Regions from separate parts of the Homo sapiens genome. Here region 2 is linked to region 1. Evidence: promoter capture Hi-C in human tissues and cell types (Jung and others, 2019). All regions are on one chromosome and are shown on one strand. Each heading gives the region's core, a stretch centred on a gene start or on the middle of the fragment in contact. The rest is flanking DNA. Distances are from core to core; before and after follow the strand shown. Region 1 holds the start of NAA50 (N-alpha-acetyltransferase 50, NatE catalytic subunit). Region 2 overlaps ZBTB20 (zinc finger and BTB domain containing 20).

Region 1 (7,330 bases), core at 2,462-4,961:
GTAAACAAACATGCTGTGAAAATAAGTTGGTCTCAGCATTAATAAAGTCCATCTGAGGTTTTTATCTATTGTATTGACCATGAATTTGGAAGGTTATTACCAGTTTATATTTAAAAGCTAACATTTAGTGCACAACTTTAGGAAGAGCTATGATCTGCAAAAATTAAAGTGGTTTAATTTCTTTGTCTAATTGCCCAACATTCATTCAATAAATAATTTATTGAGTACCTATCAGGTACTTCAGTATTCTGGTGCTGAAGACACAATAGTATTATAGTTCACAGTCCTGAGAGCTTTATGATTTGCTGAGGAAGAGCCCAGGGAACAGGAATTAAATACAATGCTAGAAGTGCAAGTAGAAGAATAGAAAAGATGATGATGATGATTAGTAGTAGTCTATAGGACTGAGTGGCTACCTCTGCCCATGGGGAAGAAAGCATTCTTAGTGGTGGCAAAAATCTATAAAGGCACTGAAAACAAGAACTCAGGAAAAGAAAACCAGAAGTGCCAAGGGCCCTAAAATAAAACCAAACCCTTATGCTTTATTTAATAGTGGACTATAGCACAATTCCCTAATAAATGTTAAGATTTCTACATGTAACACTCATAAACTGATAAGGCTAGTCTCAGAAATGTTTTCCAGGCTTCCAATCGTGTGTGTGTGTGTGTGTGTGTGTGTGTGTGTGTGTGTGTGTGATCTGTGTATAATGTCAAAGCTTTTTTTCACATTTAACCTTACTAGCAATGTAATCACCAATTCCCACTACTAATCTACATTTCATCAGTGGTCTAAGTTATTGCTTTCACGAGTTCCCTAAAACTGGGGGAATTGTGAAGTAAAACTGCAGACTCATCCAACCACTTTCATACTGACATTTTCCCCTCTAGTAGTCAATGCTTCTAGCTGGTTTTCTCTTTCACATTTTGGTCTCAGCCAGACAGGACTAGTTAGGACTTCCAGACCACATAAGGAATTCTCCTTACGTGGTGCAATGTCACCTGGTCACTGAAGTAACACTTCCTTTTTTTCTTCCCCTCTCCTCTAGAGATCAAGGAACCTTATTATGGAGAAAATTAATGGATAAAACTACATATATATATCTACAGCAGGCATGATGACATAAATATATCAATACATTAGTCTATTGTCCAGTATGGGTCGTAAGTACGAAATGCTAAAATGGTAAATCCACAAGAGATAGTAGTAATCTTCATTACTTGGGGAAAGCAACATCTCCGAGGTTATGTTTTCTACTAAGGAGCATCAATAAGCTAGGTTATGTATTTTGCACTTACTATAAAAATACTTTGTTAAACTGCTGCTATTGTAGAATTTTAACTTTTTATTCTCCTTAACAAAATAAGACCGTTTATTGTATAGAATTTGGAAGACACAGAAAAACAAAAATAAATCAGTCACATCCACCAAAGATGATTCCATCTTCCTCATTTTCCAGCAGTCTTCTTTAATTACCTTAGTTAGAAAACTACAAGATTTAACTGAGCATATAATTTTTCATATTAAGAAAGGTGTAATTTAAATTTTAAAAATCAAATTTGTAATATTCGTAAGACCTTCAATTGAAAAGCAGCATGGAATTTTCTGAGTTTGCAGTATAAATAAAAGAGTTTAACCACAAACTGAAAAACATTCTTCCCTAAAGCACATTGTTTGGGATCAAAACATTGGTAATAATACATTATGGACGGAATGGGAGTACTTGGGTTGGACAACACCTGTATTTTCAATTGGACAACAATTTCTGTATTTTCACAAAATACTATTCATCAAAATCTGAAGAGGGCACCGGGAGTTTTACAAATGGGGAAAGCTAAAGAGGGATACAAATGCTACTTAACCTAAATTTACCACAAAGCCGATCAAGGAATAGATTGGGAGTGCCAATTCAGTAGTATTTTAGGGGAAAATGACAAAAAGGGAAGGATTGACGGCAGAAAACATGTGCAGACAGCAACATCTCGACTTGATTCTACCTTTAAGCATATGGCCAAATCAATTTGGTTTAACTATTTCCAACCCAATCAGTTTCTTATTTCGGTTTCAGGGAACCCTACTCACTCTTCCCTAAACCAGCCTGGGCCTCCTGCACACCACAACACCACAATACCATCTTTCAACGCCTCCTCATTCAATCGAGACTGTCGCATTACTAACACCTCCTGTTTTGAAGACAGTATTCCTTCAACTGTCCTCTCTGCAGAGAAGAAAAAGTAAAAGCCCTTCTTTTACTTTTCTAGTCCCATCCGAAGCACGTGAACATCTACGGAACCTTCCCTGCAGGTATGTCAGATAAAATCCTTAGAATCACTGAGAAAGCACATTCGGAGGGAAGCTTCACAGTGACTCTGCAGTGAGGGCCGTATCAGTGACAGTCCCTCCCAAGCCTGTCTCACCGGAGACGCCTCTGCCTCCAGGGTTTTTGCTACCTCCCCGCTCCTCAGCCCTGAGCTGAGGGTAAGGACAGTGAGGACCTTTGCCAAAGAATGGGCTTTAAGGAATGGGACCTAATGTCTACTGCAGACCCTGTGAAATGGCTGAAACAATCTGCTACCCGAAGCCCCAAAGGCTCTGAGTAGGGAACCATAATGGCCGCACTCACTTCCAACCCTGGGAAAGGTGGACATCTGAATCCCCAAGTAGCGGGAACGACCACACTTGGGGGAGCGGGGGTTAAGGAGAAATGAGCTCCTTGCCGGTGCAGGGTGACAGCGGGGAGGAAGCCTCAGGCAGAAAAGTCGCCGTTCACACTCTCCCTTCTCTCCTTCCTCTGCCTCCTTCCACCCCCTCTATCCCCACCACTCGCCAGTTACCGGTCGCCGCTCACCTGCTGGGGCGCGAGGTGCAGAGACTGTACCGACCGAGGACCCAGAGGCTGTCACCACGGAGGGGAAGTCCTCAGCTGCACAGGTTGGGGGGGGGGGGGGGGGCGGGCCCAACCAGTCACATGACGTCGAGCTCCGCCCTGCCTCCTCCATCCCAGCGCTCTACATCTCGGGGGGCCTGAATTTTTACGGATCCCTTGAATATTAATTTTCTTGGATTAAAGAAATAAAAGATAAATTTTCACAAAGAGTATGTTATAAAGTACAATGTGGAAAATGTGGACAGCAAGAGTTAAAGCGCATTGCTAAGGAAGTGACGTTCACGCCACAATCGAGGGACAGGAAATGGCGGTGGCGTTCCGTCCCTCTGGAGTCCGCCGGTAAAATTCCAGGCTCTGAGGTTTGGGCCAATCACGTGATCTTAAAACTTGAGGCGTGCTGGAGGGTAGCCAATCTATCTGGCCGATTGTTAACTACGTTTGTTTTAAAACACCTAACTTAAACTTGAGCTTTCCACAGATTTCTTTACATTTAGAAGAACTAACTTTATAAAACCCTACTAGGAGGCAACAGCGTTTGAAGGTCACTCTGGAGACCACAAACTGGGAAGAACGGGGCTGAGAAAAACTATCTTGCGGATATGGGACAAGAGAGGGAGGGGTGGAAAAATCTGGATTTTACCGCCAGGGCCTACCGAGCCAGCCCCACAAGCAGTGTCGTAAGCGGGTGGGAGGGAGGAGCATGACCCCAGAAGGCCCAGTCCAGGAGAAAGATGGAGGTTCCGGAGTGGAGGGGGCAGGGTGCGCGGAGGCGAGCAGTGCGGCTGCGCGTGAGGCGGCGGCGCGCCGGCGCGCGAGGGGCGGGGTGAAAGGTCACAGCGCGGCAGCGGGTCTGGCTGGCGGCAGCGGCGGGAGGGAGCCGAGAGACCCGAGTGCACGTGTGGAGAAGCGGCGGCACAAGCGCGGCGGCGGGAGACACTCCCGCCCCCACCAGACTCAAGCCCTCACTCGACTCTCGCGGCCTTCGTTGCTCGCACAGCTCCCTGCCCAGGCTAGGAGGCCGGCTTGCGGGGTTGAGTGGCCCGAGCTAAGGGTGCGGAGACCTAAGGGCGGCGACTACGACGGCGTTGATATCGGTGGTAACGACGGCCTCAGCAGGCGGGGAAGATGAAAGGGTGAGGAAGGGCAGCCGGGCAGGGCCCGGCCGGTGGGGTAGAAGGGTCCGGGCCCATGTAGAGGGGGAGAGCCGCAAAGGCGAGGAGAGATTCAGGGCGAAGACGGGCGGAGGGAGATTTCTCTGCTTCTCAGTTCCCTCGGCTCCCGGAGGGGGCGGAGGCGAGGCTCGGGCTGTTGGCGGGCTGAAGGGCCAGCGGAGGCAAGACCCGGGGGGCTTCAGGGTTTCGGTTCGGAGACGAGTGTGGGTTGTTGAGTGGGGAGAAGCGACCGAGTGGGGCAACATGGAAAGGCTATTGTGAAGCGCCCGGGGCCTCCTTCCCGGGAGCGGACCGCTGAGCCACGCCGGCCCGCAGCTCCAGGTGGAGTGGTTTGGTTGTCTTCCACCTCCAGACTCAACTCTGGAACTGCGGTGTTTGACACCTTTCAGTTTAATTCACGCTTGGGAGCTGTGCAGAACCTTCTGGAGGAAGAAGAAATTGGAATAAAGAGCACGGGGATGAGTATTAAGAGCTAGTGACTCAACTAGATTTGGGTTGGGTCACAGCGAGTGGAGGAGGGGGAGAGAGCGCGATCACTGTAGACTTGGGGTGCCAACATATTTAAGGAAGTATAGGGTGGATCAGTAGGTGGAGCTGTTGCTTCAGTAGTTCACTATTGCCCCTGAGTGCTGAGGCGGTCCTGGGTAGTTCTACCACGCTGCTCCTTTCAGGTGATTGGCAAAGTTAATGTTCGGTCTTTCACCGTTTGCCTCTTACGTAAAATTAGGAATTATTTTGGATCGACTGGTTAAGTTTTTATGAAATGTCTCCTTACCATTAAGTTGTATAGTTTTAATGTATTAATTACGTAACATTTTTCCGAAGCATTGTCTCAAGCCGTTTTGGAGCTTGTCTTTACCCTCAAAGAGATGAAGCTCATAAACGTTAAAAAGCTCTCTGCGATGCCATAGTTTGTTGTTGTAAGTCGATTAAGAAGTCGTAACTATGTTTTAAGTTAACGAAGTCATTCCAACTATTCAATAGCACTTTTGAGGATGAAATAAAAGTCACTTTCAACGTAATCTCATACTGCCCCAAACAAGGACCTAAATATTACCTCTGTGTATCGGTATTTGAGGTTCCTGAAGAGATTCCAAGAAAGTTTAATTTGGTCTTAGGTCTGTAACATGTTTCCTTACTTTAATTTTCCTTTAAATACTGGATATTTATTCTAATGTTGAATTGTATGTTTTGTACTAATAATCTTTAAAGTTTAAGAACCATGAACTATTCACAGTACCTGCATTGTTTCACATCAAGTTGTAAAGAGTTCCAGTTAGGGAAATATAATTGACGGGTATAGGAAGTATTTGCTCCACTTGAATCATGATCTTGGAAGTTTGGCTATTTCAGATACAATCCAACATATTTGGAGAATGTTGTTTTTCTGCTATACTGCACTCCTTTTGTTTTGTTCTTTTCATTTTTTTTTTTTTAATGAGGCAGGGTCTGGCTCTGTTGCCCAGGCTGGAGTGCAGTGGCGCTATCTCGGCCCACTGCAACCTTTGCCTCCCCAGCTCAAGCAATCCTCCCGCCTCAGCCTTCCGAGTCGGTGGGACCTCAGGCGCGCACCACCACGCCTTGCTAATTTTTTGTATATTTTGTAGAGACGGGGGTCTGACTATGTTGGCCAGGCTGGTCTCAAACTCCTGAGCTCAAGCGATCCACCCACCTCTGCCTCCCAAAGTGCTGGGATTACAGGTGTGAGCCACTGAACGCGGCATATACTGCACTTCTTGAACATGGTTGCTGACTCTTACTCATTTTTGTACTCATTGTCAGGCACTCAGTACTTGTTTGTCATGTTCTGTTAAGTAAGAAAAATGAGGCTGAAGAGTTCCCAGTGTTGAAATTGCCATGGATTTACGAAGGGGTTGCCAGGAAATTATTCTGTATGTTTAGATCCAAAATCTTCAATCTAGTTCAGTCTCCATAGGCTGTGATGTTCTTTCTGATACATAACTTGGCGATAGAAATGAAGCTGAACAGTCATATTATTCACAATCTACCTTGAATTAATATATTCATGGAGCAATTATCTCTGTTTAAAATGGGTATTTACATGTAACCTGATGAAGGCAGATCCCTAGAAATAACTGGCCGAATTTAGAGGAAACTTACAACTATTGAATCTGTACCTTTATGCCAGTAACTATGCCAGTGAAGTTCCTATTACTTCTTATGATTGGGAGCTTAGAATTGTGTTCTTTACTGTAAACCTTTAAGATGATTTCACAGGAATAATCCCTTTAACTTAACAAATGAACTAACTCCCAGATGAGATGAAACTTTTTAATTTTTTTTGCTTCTAAGTCTGTATTTAAGACACTCAACAAATGAGTTGTGTGAATCTTACTTGTGCTTGTTCGGATACTGAACCTACAACAGTATAGGTTTAAAATAAGTTAAGCGCCTTGAGTTCCAAAACTTGTACCACAGTGCACAGTGTGGTCGATTTTAAAGTCCTGACTCTTAATTTGGAATGGCCTGTAAAAACGAAACAGTGGTCCTGGTTATGTGGCTTTTGTATGAAATTTTATTTGCTAAGTATTCTATTGTATATTGAGGTAAGTAAACAGTAAATTGAAATATCTAAAATTGGAAACTGCGGAAGTCCCAACACGAAGCCAGTCAAATATTTAAAATTGTACACTGTTGCCTATGTTGCCTATCATATTGAAACTTAAAACTTAGCTGGTTTTTCTTCATATTTTTACCATGAGTATTTTTATTAGTAGTAGCAGTAGGACTTTCCATTGTATTGGCATGTCTTTCCTCCATAGAAGATAAATTTCCGGTTATTAACTACTGAATGTAATTTATATGCACATGTAGAAGTTTGAGATATACTAGGAAATGTTGCTTACTTTTGAGGTTGGCTGTTTTTATGAACCAGGGACATTGTAGTTTGAATTTGTGGGTGATATTTTTATCTGTTCTTCTCTAGGGAAGGCGATTTCAAGCAAGAAGGTATGCCACAGATAACCATGACTGAGGTGGCAATGTAATTAGGCAGTGTAATGGAAAGTATAATAAAACCAAATCATTTAGCCTTCAATTGTAGTAAAGAGGTGCAAATTAGTTCTAATAAAAAATGTCTTTAACAAAATGTGAATACGTGACTAAGATGGGAAAGTAGGTAGCAGTAATATAAATATGGAACAATGTTGACTACTAATTGGAATAGTAAAGGGAGCCATTTTACCAAATAAAATTAAAATGTAAGATTCTGCAGTCAGAAACAAAACTTTAAAAACTCCGAACAGTGGTTAC
Region 2 (7,330 bases), core at 1,682-4,181, 1.4 Mb before region 1:
CTATAGAATGCACTCTGTAGTTTCTCTTTCCTTTCCTTTTGTATTAAATATAAACTGTACATATAAGTAAATTATGTAGATGTGGAAACTTTTAAGATAGTTGCTGGCATTGTTGTAGATTGTTTAGTAGAGAGGATTGACCAGGCAGCAGAAGAGTTCATATAGTATATGTGTCTAATACGTTGTTCTGGAGCCAGGGAGATATTACAAATAACATTTTTATATTTTGTAATCCATTGATTTAGCATTTATTGATTGTGTCACAAAAGTACCCTCTTCTAAATTTCTAAAGATAATCATATCATTTAAGATCAGCTTATAGGAGTAGTAACAACAGCTATAATAGCATAATAATCTTATCATTCAGATACTAAACTCCGTGCCACTTTTCCCCATGGTCATATTTCTCCTTTACAATTGTGGAAAATGACTCATATATAGATATGAGTCATTCTATATTAAAGATACTTTTGATTTTCTACTCTTTGCTATTTACTATTCACTGGCCACTGTTCACTCTACCACTGGTCACTCCGAGGAACTCCGGTAATATTTTCTGTCTTATTAGGAAACTGCCGTGATTATAAAGGCTACAGTATATGGGTGAATGTGAGGCAATAACTTCATTTTTTCATTATTTGATTCTTCGTTCTACTACTATATAAGACTGTAGAATATACATTATCCTTTCCTGAAAGTTTGGAGAGAAGGAGAATATTTGCATCACAAAACATAAACTTCATAGAATTTATTATTAGGCATTACTTTAAAAAATCTGGCCACGTTTACATTGGGAAATTCCCACTACTCCTCTTCTTCCTCCCTCTCATCTCTGTGCTCCCCTAACTTCAAATTGTTACTCATTTTTTATGTAGTACAGTTTAACCCCACAAGAAATATTCATGCCTCACTCTCTGACTCCAGCAGCTTATCAAGATGTTTTCCTCAAAGAGGACAATTCCATTCCCATGAAGTACTCTGAAGCCAACTTCAGCCTTTTACAAACACTTATGTTATAGATTTGAAAGAAATAATAGATAAATGAAATGTGAAGGCAAGCTGAATTTTCTTTTCAGAAATGATGTTTATTGAAATTCTGATAGTTGTATGGGAATATCTTTTTTTTTTTTTAAGTTCCAGGATACATGCACAGAACCTCTACATTTGTTACATAGGTATACGTGTGCCATCATGGTTTGCTGCATCTATCAACCCGTCATCTAGGTTTTAAGCCCCACATGCATTAGCTATTTGTCCTGATGCTCTCCCTCCTCTCACCCCCCACCCGCCGACAGGCCCTGGTGTGTGTCGTTCCTCTCCCTGTGTCCATGTGTTCTCATTGTTCAGCTCCCACATATGAGTGAGAACATGCAGTGTTTTCTATTCCTGTGTTAGTTTGCTGAGGATTATGTCTTCCAGATTCATCTATGTCCATGCAAAGGACATGATCTCATTCCTTTTTATGGCTGCATAGTATTCCATGGTGTATATGTACAACATTTTCTTTACCCAGTCTATTATTGATGGGCATTTTGGTTGGTTCCATGTCTGCTATTGTAAATAGTGCTACAGTAAACATACCTGTGCATGTATCTTTATAGTAGAATGATTTATATTCCTTTGGGTATATACCCAGTAATGGGATTGTGGGGTCAGATGGCATTTCTGGTTCTAGATCCTTGAGGAATCGCCACACTGTCTTCCACAATGGTTGAACATTCCCACCAATGGTGTAAAAGCGTTCATATTTCTTTGCAGCCTCGCCAGCATCTGTTGTTTCTTGACTTTTTAATAATCCCCATTCTGACTGGTGTGAGATATGAATACTTTTTTTAACAAACTTTTTTTTTTTTTTTTGACACAGTCTCACTCTGTCACCCAGGTTGCAGTGCAGTGGTGCAACCATAGCTCACTGCTGCTTTGACCTCCTGGGCTCAAGAAATCCTCTCACCTCAGCCTCCCAAGTAGCTAGGACTACAGGTGCATGCCATCATACAAGGCTGATTTTTTTATAGACATGCGGTCTCAGTATATTGTCCAGGCTGGTCTCTAACTCCTAGATTCAAGTGACCCTCCTACCTTGGCCTCCCAAAGTGCTGAGATTACAGGCATGAGCCACTGCATGCAGCCTTATCCAACTTTTTATTGTGAAATTCTTTCAAACATACAGCAAAGTTGAAGATTACTTTTTCTATTTTTGTTTGTCACAAGATCTTAAGATAAGGATGTGTTTAATATGTGACAATACATTTTTTGAAATGCTATTTACTTGTTTATATCATCCTTATATCTCAAATTTATTTAAGTTTTTAATTAACCAAGGTTTATAAACCCTATGTACTGTTGTTTGTTTAGTCATTCATTCTTTCAGGAAAACTTTTTTGAGCTTCAGATATATTACAGGTGTACTGCCAGATGCTAGACCAACAAAGCTTAATAAGTAGGGTCTCTGCTCTGGGGGGCAGAGGGGAAGAAGGTGGCGATGGTGGGGAGGGAGTCTCTTAGTCTTGTAGGGAGAGAGGCATATAAAATCCTCTGGCCATAATAAATGTACTTCCAATGACTTAGTTTACATGTAATACTTTATTTTAGTTTTAAATTTAAACATTTGTTGATTAGAATTTAAATTAGATGTGCAACTCTTCCCATTTAAGGATGGTACTCCTGGCCTACTATTGTCCTTGGGCCCGATGGGATACAATTTTAAAATAGATGACTAGGGTTAAGAATTATTGCCTAATTGGCCGGGCACAGTGGCTCATGCTTGTAATTCCATTACTTTGGGAGGCTGAGGCAGGCGGAACACAAGGTCAGGAGATCGAGACCATCCTGGCTAACATGGTGAAACCCCGTTTCTGCTAAAAATACAAAAAATTAGCTGGGCGTGGTGGCGGGCACCTGTAGTCCCAGCTACTCGGGAGGCTGAGGCAGGAGAGTGGTGTGAACCCGGGAGGCAGAGCTTGCAGTGAGCTAAGATCGGGCCACTGCACTACAGCCTGGGCGACAGAGTGAGACTCTGTCTCAAAAAAAAAAAAAAAAAAAGAATTATTGTGTAATTACGCCACTTACAATTAACTTTATGGTGGTGTCCTCAATGGCAAAGTCATTTACTTAGCGTAGCAATTACTCATTTTGACCCACTAATCCCAGACTTTTCTTGTCTGGGCACGGTGGCTCACGCCTGTAATCCCAGCACTTTGGGAGGCTGAGGTGGGCGGATCACAAGGTCGGGAATTTGAGACCAGCCTGACCAACATGGTGAAATCCTGTCTCTACTAAAAATACAAAAATTAGACAGGCATGGTGGCACGCGCCTGTAATCCCAGCTAGTCAGGAGGCTGAGGCAGGAGAATCGCTTGAACTGGGGAGGCGAAGATTGCAGTGAGCCGAGATTGCACCACTGCACTCCAGCCTGGGCGACGGAGCTGTCTCAAAAAACAAACAAACAAACAAAACCCCCAAAATACACAAATCCTTTACAATTGAATTCTTGCTTTTTTAATTCCTTTCTCAGGCTATAGAAAATAGGAAATATTTTATTGTGTTTATTATTTAGTTCTTTAAACAATTATTTGCATTACTATTAGATATTTGAATCTTGAACTATGCAACCTTTAAGAATGCATGATAGAGTATGTACTTTAGATGGAGTTGCTGGGTACCATTAAATTGAACGTATTGAGAGCTATGGGTATTAAACAGCAAATTTTCACTATTCTGTGTTAGTAAGCAAGATAGGGTAAGAAATCATCAGGACTTACTAGATTTGACTCACAACCACAGAGTCATGGCTGGATGGGGCCTTAACTATCTTTAGGTATTGGGTAAAACAGTATAGTGTAGGGATTAAACACATAAACTCTAAGCTAGACAGGCTGGGTTCAAATCCTATCATTATTATTATGCTATGTGATCTCAGGCAAGTCACTTAATCTCTCTTTTTTCTTCATCTGGAAAATGAGACTAAAAATAATTCCTACATTATAGGGTAATTGTTAGGCTTTAAAGAGTTAAGAAATAAAAAGTACTTAGAACAGTTCTTGACACATAGTAAGCACTTAAGCATTGGCTTTAATAACTATTATTATGATACGCTGTTCAATTCCGTCCTTTTAAATTTGTTATTTTTAGCATAGGAAGAAACTGAAACTCAGGATGGTTGCATGACTTGACGAGGGTACGCAAGCTATTTGTGGCAATGCTGGGACCAGAACCAATTTTCTTTTAATTTATTGTTTAATAGACTTTTTTTTGAGTAATTTTAGTTTCATAGTAAAATCGATGGGGAGGTACAGAGATTTCTCATATACCCCCTGCCTTCACACATGCACAGCCTCCCCATCATCAATATCCCCCACCAGAGTCATATATTTGTTACATATGATAAGCCAACTTTGACATATTATTATTACTCCAGGCCCATAGTTTACATTAAGGTTCACTCTTGGTGTTGTGCCTTCTGTGGGTCTGAACAAATGTATGACATCTATCTGTCACTATTGTATTATACAAAGTAGTTTCACTGCCTTGAAAATCCTGTGTTCTTCCTGTTCATCCCTCTCTCTACCCTAAACTCTTGCAAACAATGAGTTTTTGCTGTCTCCATGGTTTTGCCTTTTCAGAATGTCATATAGTTGGAATCATACAGTGTATAGATACGTACAGTGGATAGAAGGCAATCTTTTCAGATTGGCTTCTTTTGCTTAGTAATATGCATTTAAGTTTCCTACATGTCTTTTCATGGCTTGATATCTCATTTCGTTTTAGCACTAAATAATATTTCACTGCCTGGATGTACCATAATTTATCCATTCATCTACTAATGGGCATATTAATTTCTTCCAAATATTGGCAATTATGAATAAAATTACTGTAAACATCTGTGTGTAGGTTTTTGTGTGGGCATAAGTTTTCAATTCCTTTGCATAAATACCAACCACTGCAATTGCTGGATTGTATATGTGTTTAGTTTTGTAAGAAACTGCCAAACTGTCTTCCAAAGTGGCTGTACCATTTTTCATTCCTACCAACAATGAATGAGAGTTCCTGTTGCTCCACATCCGCATCATCATTTGGTGTTGTCAGTGCTGTGAGTTTGGGCCATTCTATTACATGTGTGGTGGTATGTCATTGTTATTTTTAATGTGCATTTCCCCAATGACATATAATATGGAGCCCCTTTCATACGCTTATTTGCCATCTGTATATCTTCTTTGGTGAGGTCACTGTTAAAGTCTTCTGCCCATTTTTAATCAGGTTATAATATTTTCTTACTGTTGAGTTTTAAGAATTCTTTGCATGTTTTAGATAACAGTCCTTTATGAGATGCATCTTTTGCAAATATTTTCTTCCAGTCTGTGGCTTGTCTTTTCATTACCTTTACAGTGTCTTTTGCAGAGTAGAACTTTTTAATTTGAATTAAATCCAGCTTATCAATTATTTCTTTCATGGATTATGTCTTTGGTGTTGTATCTAAAATAGTCATTGTGAAACCCAGAATTATCCAGATTTTTTCCTATTTAGGAGTCTTAGAATTTTGCATTTTACATTTAGGTTTATGATCCATCCATTTTGAGTTAATTTATGTGAAGAGTGTAAAGTCTGCGTCTGGATTTATTTTTTTGCATGTAGACGTCCAGTCGTTCCGTCACCACTTGTTGGAAATACTGTCTTTGCTCCATTGTATTGCTTTTCCTTTTAAGTCAAAGATCAGTTGACTATACATATGTGGGCCTTCTCCTGGGCTGTCTATTTTGTTGCACTGATCTGCTGTGTCTATTCTTTGCCAGCATCATGCATTCTTGATTACTGTAGCTTTATAGTAAGTCCTGAAGTCTGGTAGTTTCATTTGTCCAACTTTGTTCTTCTCTTTCAATATTATGTTGGTTATTTTCAGTCTTTTGCCTCTCCATATAAATTTTAGAATCATTTAGTTCATATCCACAAAATAACTTTCTGGGATTTTGATTGGGATTGAATTGAATCTATAGATCAATTTGGGACAGAACCAGTTTTTAACTTCCACTTTAGGATCTTTCTACAGAACCAAATTGCCCCATGACATATCAACACATGAAGCAATTTAATTAAATAACTTTATAACTTCCATAGTATGGTAGTCAATTACAATGATTTCTTCAGACCTTATTGTCTCCAGTCCCAACTAGGGAAAGTATATCTTGAATTCCAGTAAGTACTAACAATGTACTACTTATTGTGCTTTGAATCTAGTAAAATGTACAGATATGGGAAAAGTTTTGAGATGTTGTACATTCTTCTTCTTCTTCTTCACCTTTTTTTTTTTTAATTTGAGATGGAGTCTTGCTCTGTTGCCAAGGCTAGAGTGCAGTGGTGTGATCTTGGTTCACTGCAGCCTCCACCTCCTGGGTTCAAGCGATTCTCCTGCCTCAGCCTCCTGAGCAGCTGGGACTAGAGGCATGCACCACCACCCCCAGCTAATTTTTGTATTTTTAGTAGAGGGGGTTTCCCTATGTTGGCCAGTCTGGTCTCGAACTCCTGACCTTGTGATCTGCCTGCCTCGGCCTCCCAAAGTGCTGGGATTACGGTGTGAGCCACTGTGCCCGGTCTCATTTTTCACTTAAGCCAAAAGATTTGTTTTCCTTTTAAATTTAGCTCTCAGGTTGTTTTTTAGAAAAGAGCCTTCATGGTCCTTTATATTCCTTTTGATTCCTGCTGGTAGAAACCAAATACGTCTTCTCCTTGAATAAAAACAAAATGAAACAAAATAAAATACCTAGAACCTTATTTTAAAAATTCAGAAAATACAAATATCTAATTCAAATCCATCTGTCAAACTCTAAGTTTTATGTGTTTTTTTAATTGACATTTTTCTTAATACATTTTAATAAAGCTTCGGAGAAACAATAGGGCAATAGTAGAAAAGCAGAGCTGCCAGGCCAAATAGTGAGGAGGAGATACATGCTGGTACCTTGGGCACACTAAATATATTTTGGAAAAGTTTCTCTACAGACAAGTGACCTGAAGTAGGAGACTGTTAAATCATTTTTAGTGTGTGTCTGTCTCCTTTTAATCATCCACCCTTGGGAGGGTGATATACTACTGCAGCACTAGAGAGGTTGAATTGGTGGATTACGATGAGACTAGAGTGGTCTGGACTCTTGGTTTCTTACTAGAAATTTTCCCAGGATAGCTTGTATAATGTATAGGTAGATATTACATTCTAATGTCTGTGCTGTAGGTTAGCCACCCTGAAAATAGCTAAAGCAATATTGATCTGTATTCTAAACATGACCCAAAATTTATTTGACATTCTTAAAGATTTTTGTGAATAAGGTGAAGAATCGGTTGA

What was found. The method cuts DNA at HindIII sites, captures the fragments that hold promoters and counts their contacts. A contact is called where the count stands out against the background at its distance.
Region 2: a fragment that was not itself captured here is called in contact with the fragment with the promoter of NAA50 in region 1 in 1 of the 25 tissues and cell types used here (hippocampus).

Annotation. Positions count from the first base shown.
Region 1 is chr3:113,742,630-113,749,959 of GRCh38, reverse strand. NAA50 (N-alpha-acetyltransferase 50, NatE catalytic subunit) reads left to right here and starts at 3,711. Exons shown (of 5, transcript NM_025146.4): 1 at 3,711-4,018. The coding sequence starts at 4,011. It overlaps ATP6V1A (ATPase H+ transporting V1 subunit A), which reads right to left and starts at 2,925. Exons shown (of 15, transcript NM_001690.4): 1 at 2,847-2,925. RefSeq lists enhancers at 2,968-3,337, 2,659-3,394, 3,395-4,130, 4,378-4,527, 4,131-4,867 and a silencer at 3,688-3,807. The HindIII fragment of the contact is 9,566 bases long and covers 1,536-7,330 here.
Region 2 is chr3:115,101,945-115,109,274 of GRCh38, reverse strand. The region is part of intron 1 of ZBTB20 (zinc finger and BTB domain containing 20); the gene reads left to right. ZBTB20-AS4 (ZBTB20 antisense RNA 4) reads right to left here. Exons shown (of 2, transcript NR_046877.1): 2 at 6,214-6,719. Among named protein-coding and RNA genes, the nearest start is that of ZBTB20-AS4, 5.2 kb to the right of the region's middle. The HindIII fragment of the contact is 9,266 bases long and covers 1-7,330 here.